Regions from separate parts of the Homo sapiens genome. Here all the other regions are linked to region 4. The links are contacts of gene promoters, found by promoter capture Hi-C in blood cells and fetal thymus (Javierre and others, 2016). All regions are on one chromosome and are shown on one strand. The core of a region is centred on a gene start or on the middle of the fragment in contact, and the rest is flanking DNA. Distances in the headings are between cores, read along the strand shown.

Region 1 (2,718 bases), core at 166-2,665, 1.3 Mb before region 4:
TTTATATATTATATATGTTAATTTACATTATATATACACACACATATACATATGCATGTACATACATATTTTCCCTAGTCACTGTTTTGGGTTTGGAGCTGGGGATAGGGTGGGATAGTTAACTGTTAACTTGAGGCACTATCTTGGCCAGAAGTCAGTATCTGTGCTTGGTGTAGGTGCTCAATAAGTACCTGCTGATTTTTATGCCTAACTAGGACTCTGCTATTCTCACACCTTAAGTCTAAGACATAGGCATGGAGCTAAAATCCAAAACTGTGGGAGGGGTCAGCCCTGGCCTAGCTGTTGAGGTTACATTTAAACTCAAACACAGAGTCATGAGGTAATCTTTCCGTCTCTAAAACTTTTCCCTTCCTACTTCACTTTCCAAGATGAATGTTCCCAGTGCCTACTTACCATGGAGCAGATCTTTGGCTCCCAATGAGCAAAGGTTGGACACTGGCCCCACAGAAGTGTTGTTCTCTGTGGGAGCTACTGGGTTCTTGGCTCGCTTCTTACACTCAAACACAACCAGATCTTTGCATTGTTTGTGACAGTTCATCCCGCAGTCTGTGGACAAGACATCCTGGGTCAAGAAGTCTTTCACTTTTCTCTCTTCCCCAGTGTGTCTCACAACCAAATTCATGCAGTGCTTTCTTGTCACACATGTCTGTTCTATCTTCTGGAGCTAAGACACTTAACATTCCTAATGAAGCTAGCATTCTTCTCACTTGGTGAAGCCCAGAGCTCACACTCTTGATGTAGCCCTTATCAGTGAATCTCAGCATCAGAAGCAGTATCCTGATATCTTGGAGGGAAGAGATGGTGTCCTGGTATCCCATACATTCTGCCTACTCTAGGGAGACCCTCCGGAAACACTCAGCTGTTAGGTCTTATTTTCTTTCTTGCAGTAAAAGGTTTCCTCTCTTTCACTCCTGAATTCTCCTAGTCACAAGGAAGGACAGTTATGTCCTGAGTGATAAAGGAAAGCTGACAAGGGCCTTTAGTAATCATTTATCTTCTGTTGCAGAAGAGATTCTATCTTTTTCACTGGGGACCCACCCTTCCATGACTATATGAGAGCACCATCTCCTACCTGCTATCCCTGTTCTAGGCCAGCCACGACAGAAAGAGGATTTTATACAGAGAAAATGCCTATCTGTGCAACCAGGCATTTCTCTCTTCGGTGTGGCGGTCATTCACCGGGGGTGTCCGAGGGAAACCACTTTGGGGATGAGACTCTGAACTATGCTGAGAAGTTGTGGACTAAATGGACAACTACTATGGGTAAAAAATGTTTTAGAGGTGGGACTCTAAGACCAGCTGATATGGTTTAGCTCTGTGTCCCCATCCAAACCTCACCTTGTAGTGCCCATAATCCCCATGTGTCATGGGAGGGACCCAATGGGAGGTAAATGAATCCTGGGGGCGGTTACCCTCATGTTGTTCTCATGATAGTGAGTGACTGCTCATGAGATCTGTTGGCTTCATAAGGGCTTTTCCCCCTTTTGCTCAGCACTTCTCCTTCCTGCCAGCATGTGAAGAAGGATGTGTTTGCTTCCCCTTCTGCCATGATTGTGAGTTTCCTTAGGCCTCACCAGCCCTGTGGAACTGTGAGTCAATTAAACCTCTTGCCTTTATAAATTACCCAGTCTCAGGCAGTTCTCTATAGCAGCGTGAGAATGGACTGATACACCAGGAATATGTCAACAATATTGAGTCTTACCTTTACATCGATATCCTTGTTTGATCACTCCCCAGAGCTATGAAACAAGAGACAGAATGCACCACATGTCATTCATCCATCTGGTGTGAGGCTACAAGGTGACATTCCTTTATTTTCCTTCATTTTACTCTCTAGCTCAAGTGGGAAGGAAACCTCATTTATCTCTCATGTCTTGTCCCTTCTGACCTTAAATCCATGAGAAGAGTTTATGCTGATCAAAGTTTCTCAAGAAGCAGGTTTTTTTTGTTTTGTTTTTTTTGAGACAGTCTTGCCCAGTTGCCCAGGCTGGAGTGCAGTGGTGCGATCTCGGCTCACTGCAACCTCCACCTCCTGGGTTCAAGCAATTCTCCTGTCTCAGTTTCCCAAGTAGCTGGGACTACCAGGCATGTTCCACCACACCTGGCTAAATTTTTTTGTATTTTTAGTAGAGACGGGTTTTCACCATGTTAGGTGGGCTGGTCTCGAACTCGGGGCCTCAAGTGATCTGCCTGCCTTGGCCTCCCAAAGTGCTGGGATTACAGGCATGAGCCACCACACCTGGCTCTCACTAGCAGCCTTATGACCCAGACATTCTCGAGAAATGGATGAATCATCGGGCAAACAGGTTCCTCAGGACTCCAAACTGAGAAGGATATAGAGCCTTGCATCAGGACCCGAGTTTAGGGGGAAACGATTGGTCAGGAGTGGAACGGAAGAGGGGCATAGCCAAGGTTATCTCCTAAAGACAGAAGGTATCTCATATGTCTTTGTTATAACACTTGAAACAGCACATGAATATTATACTTTAAAAGTATATCCTAATTCAGCATTTCTGGTACCATTTATCTAAGGCCTCATTGCAATAGAAAAGAAAAAACAGGAAGAAGCGAGAGATGATGAGTGCAGGTAAAAACCACACGCTTGAGCTCTAGGTTATTCTAGGTGTCTGTCTGGGCTCCAAGCTGGGATGGGTTCATAAGGATTGTGAGGTCTGTGCCTGTCTTAAAGTATCCCAC
Region 2 (2,766 bases), core at 206-2,705, 1.1 Mb before region 4:
TGAAAGGTGAAAATTCAGATCATTCTGTCTTCTTTTACTCCATGCCCTTTCCAATTTTTGATAGTAATGCTATTGATTTTTGTTTTCCTCTTCATTACTTTAGTAACTGCAAATGCTATAATTTTATCTCCATCTCTTCTTCTGTGAAGCCTTAGACCTCTTAACTGTCTGATTCCATCAGATTTTCTGGCCATCCCTGCACAGGATTTCCTTGCTCCACACCCTCTGCTGTTAGTCTGACTCTACCACTTCCTCCAATACACTGTTTCAAAATGTCCTCATCCTTGAAGATGTCAGCTGACATTTAAAAGACGTCCATACTTTTGATCATTCTTATACCAGATGCACACAACACCAGTGTACAGTGTAATGTTAATTTTTACATGTTTATCAGTATCTTTTACAGAGTAATCTGTGTTAGTCTTAACGTCCTACTTAACCTGATCAACTTCTTCAGGACAGACATGGTAGTTATTTCTTTATCTTCCCACAAACAGATGTGCACCAAAGTGCACTCCGTACATGCTGCTGATTAAAATAACTAAAGAGACATTCTCATCCCTTAAGTTACTGTTGACAATTTTGAAGTGTCAGTCCGAAGTCACAGTTTTAGAAGAAAATGAGATTCTTTCCAGCCTAGGAGAGCACTTCTGTTCACCTACTGGGAGTGTTAATTAACTGATATCTAGTGTGTCTCCATCCTCCCTGGAGAGTTAACACCTTTCTTGGCATTAAGCCTTGCAAAGATTAGATAAGGGCCAGGTGTTTTTTATACACTTTTTTATTTGTGTGGGGGGCAGTGTATTAATTTTGTTTTTGTGCTATGTAGTATAATGTTTGATGGTTCTTGATATCTGATCCATTTTGGGGTACCAGTAGAAGAAAGCAAGGGGCACAGATTGGAGGGTATATTCTTGGGAGAGAGGGAAAATGCTTTTACCTTGCTGTGGTCCTGTCCTTGCTCAGTCAGATGGTAAAGAGGCAACTAAAGCCATTGGAAGGTTAGGAACCTTCCAGGGTGCAGGGTAGGCATAGCGCACACAGGCTGGTAAAGTTTCTGATCTTTTGACTTCCTGATCTTTTGAGCTGTTAATTAGATCTTACTCACTTTTGTCAAAAGATTTGTTATGAAGAATTGAGAACACCTAGAGTCTCAAATGTCTTTTTAAAATCATCAAATAAAGATTAGGTTAAATTCAACATAGGTTTAAGTTTTTGAACTTCAGTGGCAATCTAGTTGTAACATTCCATTTCCTGGCAATGGCAGATCATAAATCTTACTTATAAGCTCAGAAAGGAAGTTGTTCTTCCTCCACCCTCACCATTTAATCTGCTGTTTTGGGGCCAGTTATTTGATAAAGACCCACAACTGCTCTGTGGTGACCCCAAATCAGCACCCCTATAATGTGGCCCTGCTCTGGCTCAACCTTAGAACCTAGTCTCAGTTCCAAAGGGGTAGGAGTGGGCTGGCTACTCTGAGAAGGAACTTAAATTTCATGGTAATCTGGGGTACTCCCCTGTCTCTTCCCCATGATGACTGAAAGCAGTTCCCTTGCACTGAATGGAATTCTATTGGCCAAATAAATATTGGCTCTATGTAGTATTTTAAAGTTTCTTGGGGCAGGGTACGCGAGCAGAGAAAAAAAGTAGGGGCCTGCCGAGCGCTTAGCAAGTGAGGCTGCAACTAAAAGCTACATGAAAGGGATGGAGCTATCTGCAGCAGACAGGGGCCTCTGAAAATACATGCAGCATTTTTCCAGAGTCCACAACTGCCCATTCAAAAACACTTTCTGGTAAGTGCCAGAGAAAGTGTTATGTGGGAGGTGGCATGGTACCAGCTTGCGATTGCCTCAGGCAAGCTGAGCACAATCTCCTTTAATATTGAAGAACTAGTCTCCAGCCTCTGACTGAGGGAGAAGAGGAGGGCTTCTAACACATTCTAAAATGGAATGGCAGAGATGGAAAGTGGTATTTATTGACTTCTAATTTGCCATCTGTCTGCCTTAATATTTGTCTGAAATACAAACATGACAAAGGAAGAGCAAGTCTTTATGAAGGCTATTTGGCTTTCCACCCCAAGCCTATAGGCGTCATGACAATGGAGAGGCCAGCTCTCTCACCGCTGGCTGTCTGGTCCTCTGTCAGCCACTGTGAAAGGGGTCACAGGGAAAGCGTTAACAGATCAATGCCTTTGGCTGTGTGCTCCCTTTTCCCACAGCGATCGCCCAGGATGCCTTAAAAATAATCTCTCCTTTTCACGCAGAGTAGATTTGCAGGTCTGGAGTCCGTAAAGCCAATTTTCATTTTTAATCCGGTTTGAGCCCATCTCATTAATCAGTCAAGTCTTCCTTTTCACACTTGCCTTGGGATACAAAGAGAGCCCAGTTATGAGCTGTTAATTAGCTATTAGGGGACTGGGAAACTTCCAAGGGGTCATTATTCACAGTGAGGCTAATACTTATTTAATTAGAACTATTCCTTTCCTGTCATAAATCCCTAGTTAAAATAAATGTAGCTCAAAATGTCAGCTCAGCTTAAAAGAAACTAGTGGTTAATTCAAATTCTGCTGATTTTTTATGGGACAAATGTTTGAACAATAGTGCAATCCTGCCAAGCCAAGCATAGTAAGACCCAAGTCTAATCAGAACTGGCACTTAGGGGTTGTATATGTGTGTGTTTTGACGGAGAATGTTCATGAGACCAAGAAAGTGGGCTCCCTTTGATCATCAATCACCCTCTCACATACATTTTTTTCTTTTCTTTTCC
Region 3 (3,069 bases), core at 268-2,767, 1.3 Mb before region 4:
TTCAAACAGATTATAGTCATTTATTAGAAAGGTTATGTAGTTTCTTTTCTTCACTGTTTTACTAGTATTGAGATAATATTGTGAATGTAATTTTATAGCTTGCTTTTTCACTAAATATATTGTAACCATTTTCCAATATCTCTAAAAACTCTATTTTAGTACCCTTTTTAAAATTAACTCTTAATTTTTTTGAGATATAATTAACATAAAATTTACCATTTTATTTTTATTTTTGAGTTGTAGTCTTGTTGTTGCCCAGGCTGGAGTGCAGTGCCATCATCATAGCTCACTGCAACTCACTGGAGGGTCAAGTGATCCTCCCACTGTGGCCTTCGCTCAGGCAGCTGGGACTACAGACGTGTGCCACCACACCTGGCTAATTAAAAATTTTGTTTTATTTTTTATAGAGACAGGGTTTTGCCATGTTGCCCAGGCTGGTCTCAAACTCCTGGCCTCAAGTAATGCTCCCACTTCAGCCTCCCAAAGTGCTGAGATTACAGGAATGAGCCACTGTGCCTGGCCAAAATATACCATTTTAAAGTGTACAATTCAGTGGTTTTTAGTCTGTTCACTGTGTTGTGTAACCCTATATGTAATTCCATAACACTTCCATCATCCCAAAATGACATAGCTACCTCTCAGCAGTCATTCCCAATATTCCCTACCTCCATGCCCTGGCAACCATTACTATAATATACTTTACATTTCCATGGATTTGCCTATCTGGACATTTCATATAAATGGAATCATACAATATGTGGCTTCTGCATCTGGCTTTGATTTAGCATAATGTTTCCAAGGTTTATTCATGTCATAGCATGTAACAGTACTAAATTTCTTTCAGTATCCTTCTTATGGCTGCATTATATTTTATCATTTAGTGATTCAATAGTTTACTTCTCTTATTTTATACATTTTTTTCTATATTAACAATACCAGGCATGTTTCTGTGTTTAATTTTTATATATAAATTTCAGAGTAAAATTTTATGGTGGATTCCTTAAAGGAAATTTACTGTGTCAAAGGTTTTGTCTCTTAATGCTCTCGCTTCCCATGGCCAAATTGTTTTCCACTTAAGTTTATATGAATTTAAACTCCTTCCAGTAAGGTAAATGAAATGTTGTGTCACTTTAGCCTCTTTATTGCTAACTTGATGTTAAAAAGACTAACTTGTTTTGTCTGTTCTTATTATTGACAAAGTTGAACTGTTTTCATAAGCTTATTAGTCATTTGAATTTCCTCTTTTTAACTTCTATTTATGTCTTGTCATTTTTTTTTCCTGTAAAATTCTGTTTTCTTTTTGTGTTTGAGGTTTTTATATAGAAAGGAAGTTTGCTGGTTGAATTATTTGTTGAAAATATTTTCCCCAGTTGTCATTAGATGTTGTTTTATATCTTTTAAAGTACAGAAATTTTAATTTTTATAATGTAGTTGTTTTTAAATTGAAAATTAAACCTCAAACAGTTAACTTTTTGTTCTCTTTGGAATTCCCTTTGTTATATGGTGTGCTGTATTATTGTTATTATTACAGATAGCCACCAGGTCATTCCAGCACCATTTAAAAGATAATCCTTTCCTTTTCTCGTTGATCTGTGATGTCTCCTTTATCATTTATTGCATTCATAGATTTATGAGGCTCTGAGTCTCAATATACTATTTCATCAATCTATGTTTTTTTCTCCCAAGTTCTAGTTAATTAGATGGAGGTAGGATAGCAAACTGTTATCTATACTAGACCTGTGCTTGGGGGTCAGGTAGACCTTTGTTGCTAAGTGGGCAGAGCTAGGATTCTCTCTATATTTTGGGGAAACTAACTTAAGCTTTCTATGCCTCATTTTTTTTTTCCATCTGCAAAAGGGGATAATAAAAACCAACCACTCTAAAAGGATATTTTGAGGATTAAAGAAATAATGCCTTACTAAGTGAACAGCATCCTGGCACATTTAATAAGTTCTCATTAAATGTTAACTGATAAGATGATGATAATTTTGTATTATAGCATATTAGTATTTGGTAGGATTATATTTCAAAATGCTTTTAGTTATTCTTACATATTGAGTTTCTGGATTTAACTTTAGATTTTTTTTTCATTCTCTCAAAAACTATTTATATAGGATTATAAGTTAATTTGGGGGAAAACTGACAATAATACTTAATGTTCCCATACAGAAACTTGGTATTTCTTACCATTTATACAAGTTTTCCTTTTGTTTTTGCAAGATTTACTGATGTTTCCCTTTTAAATGTCCTGTATGTGGTTTTGGTAAAACTATTTTTTAGGTATTTTTTGTTAATATGTATAGAAATTTTTTTGTTATTATTTTTTAGCGAGTTGTTGCTGGTAGTTACATATTTTTAACACCTGTTGGTCTATTTTATTTGTTCTAAATTATTCATAAATTCTCAGATATTTGGGTGTTTTTGCTCTTTTCTAACTCCTTGCTTATGCATTATCTCCTTTTCTTTATTTCTAAAGATTATGATTGTTTTTGCTCTTTCATTAAAATGTACTTTTGTTCCTTTTTTCCTTAACTCTTGTCATTTAGGTAAAAACAGATGATATAGCAAGAATTTATCAGCCTAAGCGTTATGCTTTGTCACCCAAGACAACGATTACAATGGCACATCTACTTGCTGCTCGTGAAGATCTATCCAAGATCATTAGGACAAGTAGTGGCACCAGCCGGGAGAAGACCGCATGTGCCATTAATAAGGTTGGTGTTTCTTTCAGTACAGTGGAAAATGAATTGATGATATCTTACTTAATGTTTTTACAGATTTTAGTCTATTTTTCTTTCATGTCCTGGTAAATGTTTAGAAAAAAGAGTGGCAGGGGGGTTCAGTCTAGGCTTAGTTATGTTATTTTTGTGTATGTGTGTATGTTCACTTGAATTTGTGTATTCATAAATCAAAGTATTTTCTGAATTAGAGGAATTATGAATTGTTTTTGTCAAAGCTTTAGCAAGAATTATGTTCCATCTTTCTAAAAAGTAATCATTTTTTGTCAGTAAGAATCTTTCGGAATTGTTTCAAGTACTGACAGATTCGTTATATCCTTGGTGTAAAGGG
Region 4 (2,968 bases), core at 411-2,910:
TGATGTACGGATGGCAAAAGAGCACATGAAAAGATGTTCAACATCATTACCCCTCAAAAAAATAAAATAAAAATCACAATGAGATACCACTACACACCTATTCAAATGACAAAAATTAATTTTTTAGAAAACTGACAATACCAAGTGCTGACAAAGTTGGAGAGCAACTGTAACACTCATATTGCCAATGACAATGCAAAATCATCACTTTTCAAAACTGCTTAGCAGTTTCTTATAAAGTTAAACATATATTTACCATATGACTCCACAATCTCATTCATATTTACCCAAGAAATGAAAACATATTCACACACACAAAAAAAAACCTGTACATGAATATTTATACCAGCTTCATCAATAATAGCCAACAACTGGAAAGAACTCATCCAAATATGCCTCAAGTAGGAAATGGATAAATATACTACCGTAGATCCATACAATGGACTATTACTCAGCAACATAAAGGAACAACTGATACACAGAACATGAATGAATAGCAACTGCATGATGCTAAGCTGAAAGAAGCCTGATTCAAAAGGCCACAGGGTGTTTGCTTCCATCAATATGACATTCTGGAATAGGCAAAATTACAGGAACAAAAAACTAGGAAGTTGTTGCCAGGGATGGCGTTAGGGGAGGGATTAAATACAAAGAGCACTAGGGAATTTGGGGTTCATGATGAAACTTCCGTATGCTGATTGTGGTGGTTGGTAATTACATAACTGTATACATTTGTCAAAACTCACAGAACTGTAGATTAAATGGGTGAGGCTTACCATAAGTAAGTTATACCTCAATTTTAAGTTAATATATTTGTGCCAATCTTTCTTTAGTTATGCTCATACATCCATAAAATATATTAGAATTGCTGAGTCAAAGAACACTTATGTTTCAAATTTTGGTAGTTCGCCAAATTGTACTCCAAAAAGGCTGCACCAAATTACACTACTTCCCCTACACTGGGCTGGGGCCCATCTGGTTATGTCAAAGCTGTTTCATCTTCTCCAGTCTCATAGGTGTAAAAGGTATCTGTGAATTTGGTTTACATTTCTTCACGAGAAAAGTTGAGTCTCTAATCAATTGTTTGCTGTTTGCATCTTTTTATTTTTCCTGTGAAATGCCTATTTGCATCCTTTGCCGTTTACGGTCTAGTTTAAATGGCTGGTGATCAGTTCTAGATCTTGGTGGGAAGATCCAAATCTCGGGAAAGTAGAAGCCTTGGTTACAGGTCCTAATGTTAGGTGATTCCTGGAGAAATAGCCTCCGCGGAGGCAGAAGCCGCTGGGGCCCCGCCCCCAATGAGCCCGCCCCCGCCCTCTCATTGGCCCTGTCCGCTCTCCCTGACAGTCCATCTACATGCCAAGCGGCCCGACGCAGCTCCGCCCCGCCCACTCCTCGGCGCACCGCCCCGCGACCGAGCTCCGCCCTCATCTGCGCGGCCCCTCACCTTCCCGCCGGGCCTCCTCGAGGAACTGGCCGCCGTCAGTCAGGGCGCAGATGGCCGCAGAAGCGCGCCGCAGACACTCGCCGCGCCAGCCACTTACCCCCAGAGGAGAGGGGTCTCTCCCGCCACCTCAGCCTCTCTGGTAGTGGAAGAAGCCGCCGGTCCAGATCCCTCCTGCCTGTGGGACCGCTGTTTCCCTGGCAACCAGATGCGCGATGCTTCCGGTCTCGCGATAGCGGAAAGGGCTGTACCATCCGGAAATGGGACCGGGGCCGGCGGCTGTTGGAGCCCTGCGAGCTGGGACGGCCGGCGTGTGTCCTTCCGTCTTCGCTGCCGACGGTGGGGGTTGGGAGCGATTTTTCGTCTTTAGGTTGGATTCGGAACGCGGACGTCTGGATGCTTGTGTATCTCTGTCCCTCATATTGCTGTGATGCCTTACAGGTCAGTTATCCTCTCCGAGCACAGTTTCCTCCTCCGTAAAATGGGAACAATAATAATTCCCTTCTTACAAGACTTGTGCAGCTCAAAAAGACCATGTATGTGAAGCTCTAGTAAATTTGGGGTGCTATGGAAATTTTAAAAATATGAGTTTTGCACAGATTCGGCTACAGTCCAAAAAGAGTTATAATTGCTTTTTGCACCTTCTTTCATTTCGTAGTTTCTCTAATTCTCAGTGCACGAAAATTATTTCCCTACGTCCACAAACTGATTTTCCTCACCTCCATTGCCATCATTTCTCCTGCTTTCCAGTCTGAACAGCACATTACCGTTTACAGGGCATTTTCACATTCATGGCCCCTTTGTCCTCATTGTTTTAACTAGGTACGATGTGGTTTTTTTTCAGCGAAGCAAATAGTCGTAGGCTGAGTTGCCGAAAGAACACAGCTGCAGTCTAGGCGAGTGCTGGGTATAAAAACCTGGCTATAAATGCCATCCCTATGCTCCTGAATCCTGCATCTTATCACCAGCCCAGACTTCCCTGAACTCCAGACTCCTTTACCTAACTGCCTATTTGGCATATCCACTTAGATGTGTAAGCATCTCAAACTTAACACGGGAAAAAACAACTTCTCCAGAGTCCCCCACCCACTTTCTATCCATCTCAGCAAATGGTAATTTCAGCCTGCCATGCCTAGACCAAAAACCTTGGAGTCATCCTCAATTCTTCTTCCTCTCTCACTCTACAATCTATTTGTCCTATCAGCTCAACATTCAAAATATATTCAGAATCCAAACATTCGTCACAACTTCAGTGCTTCCATTCAGGTTCATACTGACATCATCTCTAAATGATAAGGCTTTCTGTTGGCTCTCTGACCTCCACTCCTACCTACTGCTTTCCCCTGGTAAACCTGGTTCCAGCCTCACTGTCCTCATTGTTAGTGTTTCTGTGCAGGGATTTCTTCCCAGCATTTCTCAGGGAATTTATGTGGCTTTCCAAATCTCAAAAGAAAAAAAGTTGCAAACTGAAGAAAATGGGAGAAAGTATCCTAATCCTCCTATGAGAATTAAAACTTAGCAGCC
Region 5 (3,000 bases), core at 342-2,841, 1.2 Mb before region 4:
GCAGGTCGAAGGTGTTTTAACAATCCATAGAATGAATGGCCTCTGAGTCTGTAAAGGCATATTTTTTAAAAAAATACAGTAGCCAAATGTTTTCCTGTAAATGAAAAAACCAAAACCCCGAGAGAAACAAATTAACTTGAAGGTGTTTTCCAAGCCTAAAAGTAACCAAAGCCCCATAGGTTTGCTGAAGGAGACCGTCAAAACTCTAAACTGGTTTAGGTGAAATCCTCTCCAGGCATAGGTATCTCAGTGGAGGTCAGTTTCAGGCTGAGCTTTTTATGAAATCCGCCTAGAAAAGTAAGAGATGAAATGGAGCAAGGGAACTGGAACTTCCACAACTTTCTTTGCAGTGGAAGGTGACTCTCTTGACTTCTAGTATGGATTCCTTCCAGTCCCGTCCTCTTCCCCTTACAATACTCAATTTAATGTACTGAACTCCTCCTTCTGAATCTAGTGCAAAGTACAGTGGTGGACCCTCAGGGGATACCTGGATGGGGAGAGGCAGGGCGTGCATACAGGGCCAAGAATCCTTCGTTCCTGGGATTATAAGCACGGGAAGTCCAGCATCGCAAGCTTCCTGCCGCTACTGGGTATGGTGGTGCAAGGCACAGTCCCATCAGTGTCGATGTGAATGGAGTTGTGAAGTGCACAACTTGTCCAGCCCCTACGCCGAGGCCAGGCCTTTGTTCATGCAGTTGCCTAGTTCTGGTCCTTTGGCTACAAACTCAAAGCTGCCTGGCCAAGAGCCCTTTCACTCACTGTCCCTCTTTCTTCAACTTCTGTTATCCAAGACCCTCTATAGAATCATAGTGAGGGGGAGAGGAGTGCAGCTTCCCATACGGAAGGCGATATGTTTCCCTGACCCACGGATCTGGAAACTTCCGTGGGGCAGGGGCAACCGAGGGGTGCCACCTCTGCGGGCTCCCTGCAAGCTCCTCGGCCGTTCTGGGCAGGGCCGGGAGGGGCCACCAGGTGGCGCAGCCGGAGCCCAGCGCCCCAGCAGGTGCGGGCAGCGCGGAAAGTCCGCGAGTGGGAGTCCCGATGCCGGGCGTGGAGATGTGGGGGAGGAAGTCGGCGGGCGGGCGCCGGCTCCGCGAAGAGCTTCGGCCCTAGCAGATCTCACCGGACGAGCTCTGGCCTCGCGGCCGCCCCTCTACCACCCCTCAGCCCCAGCTCCCTCCCCGAAACCCCGGGCGCAGCGCGCCGGGCGTTCTGGACACGTCCGCCCGTCGCGCTGGTGTCCCGGGACTCCGGCCGACCCCGGCCCCCCTCCGCCCTCAACTTCCCTCGGGGTGTTGGGGCGACGGGCAGGGGCCTCTTTCCCAAGAAAGGACACAGGCGCTCCCGAGGGCCACGGCCGCCTCTACTCACCGCGGAGCCTCTCTCGCCTTGCCCAGGGTGCCCATGGCCGCGGCCCGCGCTCCCGGTGCCGGCTCACCTAGCGCGGCCGGGCGCGGCGCATCGCCCCCGCCACCACCGCCGCCGCCTGCCGGCTCTCTCCCCCCCGGGCCTCGTAGCCCCGGCGCCCGCCAGCCCTCGAGCCCGGCGAGCCCGACCGAGGTGCACCGCAGGCACAAACTTTGTGCGAGCGCGCCCCCTCTGCCTCGCGCGCGCGCTCACACCCGCCTGGCAACCACCTGACACGCTGATGCTGGCGGCTGCAGGAAACGTGCGGCGCCCCGCCGCTCTTCCCCGAAACCTGCCCCCTTTCCGCGGGTGCCCCGGCCTGCGCCTCGCGCGGTTCTCTCACCCCTGCCCGCCTTCGACCTCTCTTGGCCAAAGGGTTAAGTCTCAGGGGAGTTGGAGAGGAGCGGGCTCCCGGCTACCACGCCCGCGCCTTGCAGGGCACCTGTGCCCGTCGACCTCCACCTCAGCTCGGGAAACGGGCTGCGCCTAGCGGCTCCCATGGGACCCCCTTTCCCGCAGCCGACCCGCAGCTTCCACGCCTCTTCCTGCGGCCGCTGCTCGGAGCACTGCAGTGAGGACGCCTTCTCCCCTCCAGGGCCTCTCCTGTATATATCAGAGCGCGGAGTCCGGCAGGGGAAAGGAACGGAAAGACAGTTGTGAAGTTGCCTTAACCTGTGCCCTGGGGTCTCTAGGTAGCCGTCTGCAGGACTGGGCCGTAGACATGTGCCCTGTGCCCTGCGCCCTGCACCTTGGACGAGGGCTGCCTGTGTGGAGGTGCGCTCCACAGGCGTGATCCATATCTGGCCCAGACGCGGCCGCCTGGCGTCGGTGGGTGTAGGAGATGTGGGGACAACTTTCATACAACGTCAGTGCGCACAGAAGACCTGGCCAAGAGGGGCGGCCCATCCGCTGCTTGTCCAGGTGATAGTGCTGATAATCTCAATAGCTAATGATTGAGTGCGGTTGTGCTAAGTGCTTTCTATACATTACCTCATTTAATCCACTCTCCCTGATACAAAGAGATCACTGTTGTAAAGATGAGAAAATGAAGGTTTAGAGAATGCTATGCCTTAGATCATACAACTAATAAACAGCAGAGAGACCTCTGACTTGGACTGAGGTCTGTCTGACTCCCTGTAATCACTGCTGGACTGCCCTAATAACACACTCATTATCACGGCCACAGACCATAACTCTAGCCACAGTCATAGTTGTCTTCCTGGCCATAGTGTTCTGGACTTTAAAGCCTTCCTCTGTTTCATTTATATATTTCCTTATATTTATATGCTACCTTGTCCTTAAAACAGAATTCGAGATAGCTTACAAGAGCACATAACCTACAAAAAGAAGTGTGTGAAATGAAAAATGAGGCACACAAGATGGAGCCAAAAATGAACATCATTTGAAATAAATGCATCTCATAGAGTCAAATACCCTTGCTACAGGTGGGACCAAAATTTGTCTCCTGCATTTCTAGCAGTCAAGTTTAAAGAGAGGCCTTGTCTAAAGTTCAATTCCTATCACATGCAAGACCAAAAACAAAATTGCTCAAGAGAAGATCCCCCTTTCTTGATACTGAGACCAGCAAGAAAT
Region 6 (2,799 bases), core at 236-2,735, 1.3 Mb before region 4:
AAAGGCTGCCCCCCACAGGGAGCAGGGCACCCTCTTTCTCACTTCATTCAGGAGCTGAAGCAAACACCAGCACATGCAGGCTAAATAGTAAGAGGCTCAGGCATCTGCTGATCTTGGTAAACTTCAGTGTTTGCTGGAACCCTCAGACCCCATACCTTTTTCTTTTCTTCATAGCTAGTACTGTGGCTATAAAGTACCAGTACAGTTCTGACTGTACTTTTCAGGCACCTAAACTATTCAAAGCACATTTTCAAATTTATCCCTCTCTTCTTTTCACAATGGTAATCAGGAGACCATCTGAGCTTATTTAACTAAAAATTCTATTACTTCCAGGTCAGAGAACAGGGAAACTAAGCGTAAAGAAAGAAAATAATTTTGCCTTCAATGTTTAACCTGGCTTTCATTACAGGAGTATTATTTCATACTCTCAGAATCCCTTTCCCTACCCCAGGTTACATCTTCACCTGAGCAAAGCCCAGATATCACAGGTAAAAGTTCTTGTAAATATAAAAAGTATCCCAATGTTTGCACCCATAGTAATGCAACATTTATTGTGTCCTACCATGAAACAGCCACTAAACTAAGTTCTAGATACAAAGATAAATAAGCCTTGCTCCCTGCCCTTGAAAGACAGAGTCTAGCGGGGGAGACGACACACAAATAGGTAAGTTACAGTGTACATACTTTTAAAATACAAAAATATATCTTTCTTAATTTGTAATTCAATCAATTTTTCAGTACCCTTGCAATCTTTTATATTATTAACCAAATTGAAATCACAGCAGCTAGACACAAACGTTCTGTACTTTACTTGAAACGGTCATCTATAAAGACCAGAGTACATAGGCACTACATTGCAAAACGGACTGAAGTTTAGGTAGATACATTTATTTAGCTAACAGAATAAAAACACTTCACACTTTCTGTGAGTTTTTCAATGCAGATTACATCCAGGCCAGAGATATGAGAAACGCACTTTGACTTAAGCAGTACAAAACTAAAATCAAAGGAATTAAATAGATTGTCAATCAATAATACTATTTTAAAACATTAGAAGTATTTTTAAAAGGGGAGAAGGGCTGGAAAAGTCTAGAAAAGCTTCCCAGAAGGGTCTTGAAAGAGCTTCTAAACAAAGAGGGTAGAAAGGCTTTCAAGGCACAGGAATGATAAAAGGCCCCATTACATCCAGTATATTGAGAAGTTCAGTGAGGAAGGGAAAGGGTTTCTCAGAGAGCTACGGAATGAAGCAGGAAAAACTCGCTGGGAACAGACTGAGGAGGCCCTTTTGCTGGCAAGCTAAGGAGTTGACATTAACTCCGTAGTCTGCAGAGGCTCAGAAACAATGGCCTGCCCAATTTGCTTTGTAGGAAAGAATTTCAAGGGTAGCTACCATGAGACGGGGTAGGCGGACCATGTAGATACAAAGACTGGAGTGGGACAGTGGTTCAGGAGAGAGACCACGGAGACATGAACTAAGGCATGGTATGGGAATGGAGAGCAGAGACCAGATAAGAGTCATTTCTGAAGTAGAAACCCTAGGATCAGGTGACAGACTGTAGGAGGTGAAAGCAGGGGAGAAGTCAAGAGTGCTTCTGATGTTACTGGTTTAGGCAAGAATAGATACTAACACTATTAACTGAAATTGACCATGAAAATACAGTCATGTGCTGCATAACATTTTGGTCCATGACGGACCACATATATGACAGTGGTCCCATGAGATTACAATGAAGTTGAAAAATTCCTATTGCCTCATCCTGTCTTCATAATCCTGACCCAATATAGGCCTAGGCTACTGTGTATACTTGTGTCTTAGATTTTGACAACAAAGTTTAAAAAGTTAATAAACATTAAACATTTTTAAAACAGAAAGAAGCTTACAGAAGAATATAAAGAAAATATTTTTACACAGCTGTACACTGTGTAGAGTCAAAGTTTTAAAAATTAAGTTTATAACATAAAGTCACAGTAAGCTAAATTATTATTGAAGAAAGAAAAATATTTTTTATCAATTTAGTATAGCCTAAGTATATAGTGTTTATAAAACCTACAGTTATGTACAGTAATGTCCTAGGCCTTCACATTCACTCACCACTCACCCCTGACTACCCAGAGCAACTTCCAGTCCTGCAAGCTCCATTCATGGTAAGTGCCCCCCTATACATATCATTTTTTAATCTTTTATACCATATTTTTACTGTACTTTTTCTATGTTTAGATATATAAATACTTACCATGTGCTACAACCACCTACAGTATTCAGTACAGTAACCTGCTGTACAGGTTTGTAGCCTAGGAGCAACAGGCTGTACCGTCTAGCCTAGAAGTGTAGCAGGCTATGCCATCTAGGTTTGTGTAAGTACACTCTATGGTGTTCACACAATGACAGAGTCGCCCAATGATGTATTTCTCAGAATGTGTCTTAGGCAAAACAAGGCTGTACTGGTGTCGAAGCAGAATTAATGAGGTAGTGGCTGTGGGTGGGGACAGTGGGCTAATGCATATATTAAAGTCTTAAGTGTTAGCAGGACAAACTGGTATAAACCTAAGAAAAATGGTTTAGGTTAGATGGCTGGGTGCCGTGGCTCATGCCTGGAATCCCAGTACTTTGGGAGGCTGAGGTGGGAGGATGACTTGATGCCAGGAGTTTGAGACCAGACTAGGCAATATAGTGAGACCCCTCTCCCCGCACCAATTTCCAAAAAAAAAAGGAAAGGTTTAAGTTAGAGAAATCCAGACTTGAAAGTCACCATCAGCACAGAAGAATGGTGGAAACAGTGGTAGGAATTCTGGTGAGAA

What was found. The method cuts DNA at HindIII sites, captures the fragments that hold promoters and counts their contacts. A CHiCAGO score of 5 or more calls a contact.
Region 1: a fragment that was not itself captured here is called in contact with the fragment with the promoter of FSIP1 in region 4 in 2 of 17 cell types (naive CD4 T cells and naive CD8 T cells); the score reaches 7.7 in naive CD4 T cells.
Region 2: a fragment that was not itself captured here is called in contact with the fragment with the promoter of FSIP1 in region 4 in 1 of 17 cell types (total CD4 T cells); the score reaches 5.0 in total CD4 T cells.
Region 3: a contact is called between a fragment that was not itself captured here and the fragment with the promoter of FSIP1 in region 4, in 5 of 17 cell types (naive CD8 T cells, naive CD4 T cells, total CD4 T cells and 2 more). The highest score is 7.9, in naive CD8 T cells.
Region 5: a contact is called between the fragment with the promoter of RASGRP1 here and the fragment with the promoter of FSIP1 in region 4, in 6 of 17 cell types (total CD4 T cells, naive CD8 T cells, non-activated CD4 T cells and 3 more). The highest score is 10.3, in total CD4 T cells.
Region 6: a contact is called between a fragment that was not itself captured here and the fragment with the promoter of FSIP1 in region 4, in 1 of 17 cell types (total CD4 T cells). The highest score is 5.6, in total CD4 T cells.

Annotation. Positions count from the first base shown.
Region 1 is chr15:38,498,380-38,501,097 of GRCh38, forward strand. It overlaps RASGRP1 (RAS guanyl releasing protein 1), which reads right to left. Exons shown (of 17, transcript NM_005739.4): 14 at 1,724-1,760; 15 at 415-567. Among named protein-coding and RNA genes, the nearest start is that of FAM98B, 46 kb to the left of the region's middle. The HindIII fragment of the contact is 5,932 bases long and covers 1-2,718 here.
Region 2 is chr15:38,666,813-38,669,578 of GRCh38, forward strand. No RefSeq gene overlaps it. Among named protein-coding and RNA genes, the nearest start is that of LINC02694, 28 kb to the right of the region's middle. The HindIII fragment of the contact is 3,643 bases long and covers 1-2,766 here.
Region 3 is chr15:38,478,746-38,481,814 of GRCh38, forward strand. FAM98B (family with sequence similarity 98 member B) reads left to right here. Exons shown (of 8, transcript NM_173611.4): 7 at 2,547-2,714. Among named protein-coding and RNA genes, the nearest start is that of FAM98B, 26 kb to the left of the region's middle. The HindIII fragment of the contact is 602 bases long and covers 1,217-1,818 here.
Region 4 is chr15:39,781,181-39,784,148 of GRCh38, forward strand. It overlaps FSIP1 (fibrous sheath interacting protein 1), which reads right to left and starts at 1,661. Exons shown (of 12, transcript NM_152597.5): 1 at 1,448-1,661. It overlaps LOC105370941 (a long non-coding RNA gene), which reads left to right and starts at 1,726. Exons shown (of 1, transcript NR_135665.1): 1 at 1,726-2,968. RefSeq lists a silencer at 1,291-1,470 and an enhancer at 1,771-1,900. The HindIII fragment of the contact is 7,042 bases long and covers 1-2,968 here.
Region 5 is chr15:38,563,223-38,566,222 of GRCh38, forward strand. RASGRP1 (RAS guanyl releasing protein 1) reads right to left here and starts at 1,592. Exons shown (of 17, transcript NM_005739.4): 1 at 1,372-1,592. The coding sequence starts at 1,406. RefSeq lists silencers at 889-1,088, 1,099-1,318, 1,349-1,588, 1,749-1,798 and enhancers at 1,656-2,167, 2,009-2,198. The HindIII fragment of the contact is 3,108 bases long and covers 572-3,000 here.
Region 6 is chr15:38,521,534-38,524,332 of GRCh38, forward strand. The region is part of intron 3 of RASGRP1 (RAS guanyl releasing protein 1); the gene reads right to left. Among named protein-coding and RNA genes, the nearest start is that of RASGRP1, 42 kb to the right of the region's middle. The HindIII fragment of the contact is 778 bases long and covers 1,097-1,874 here.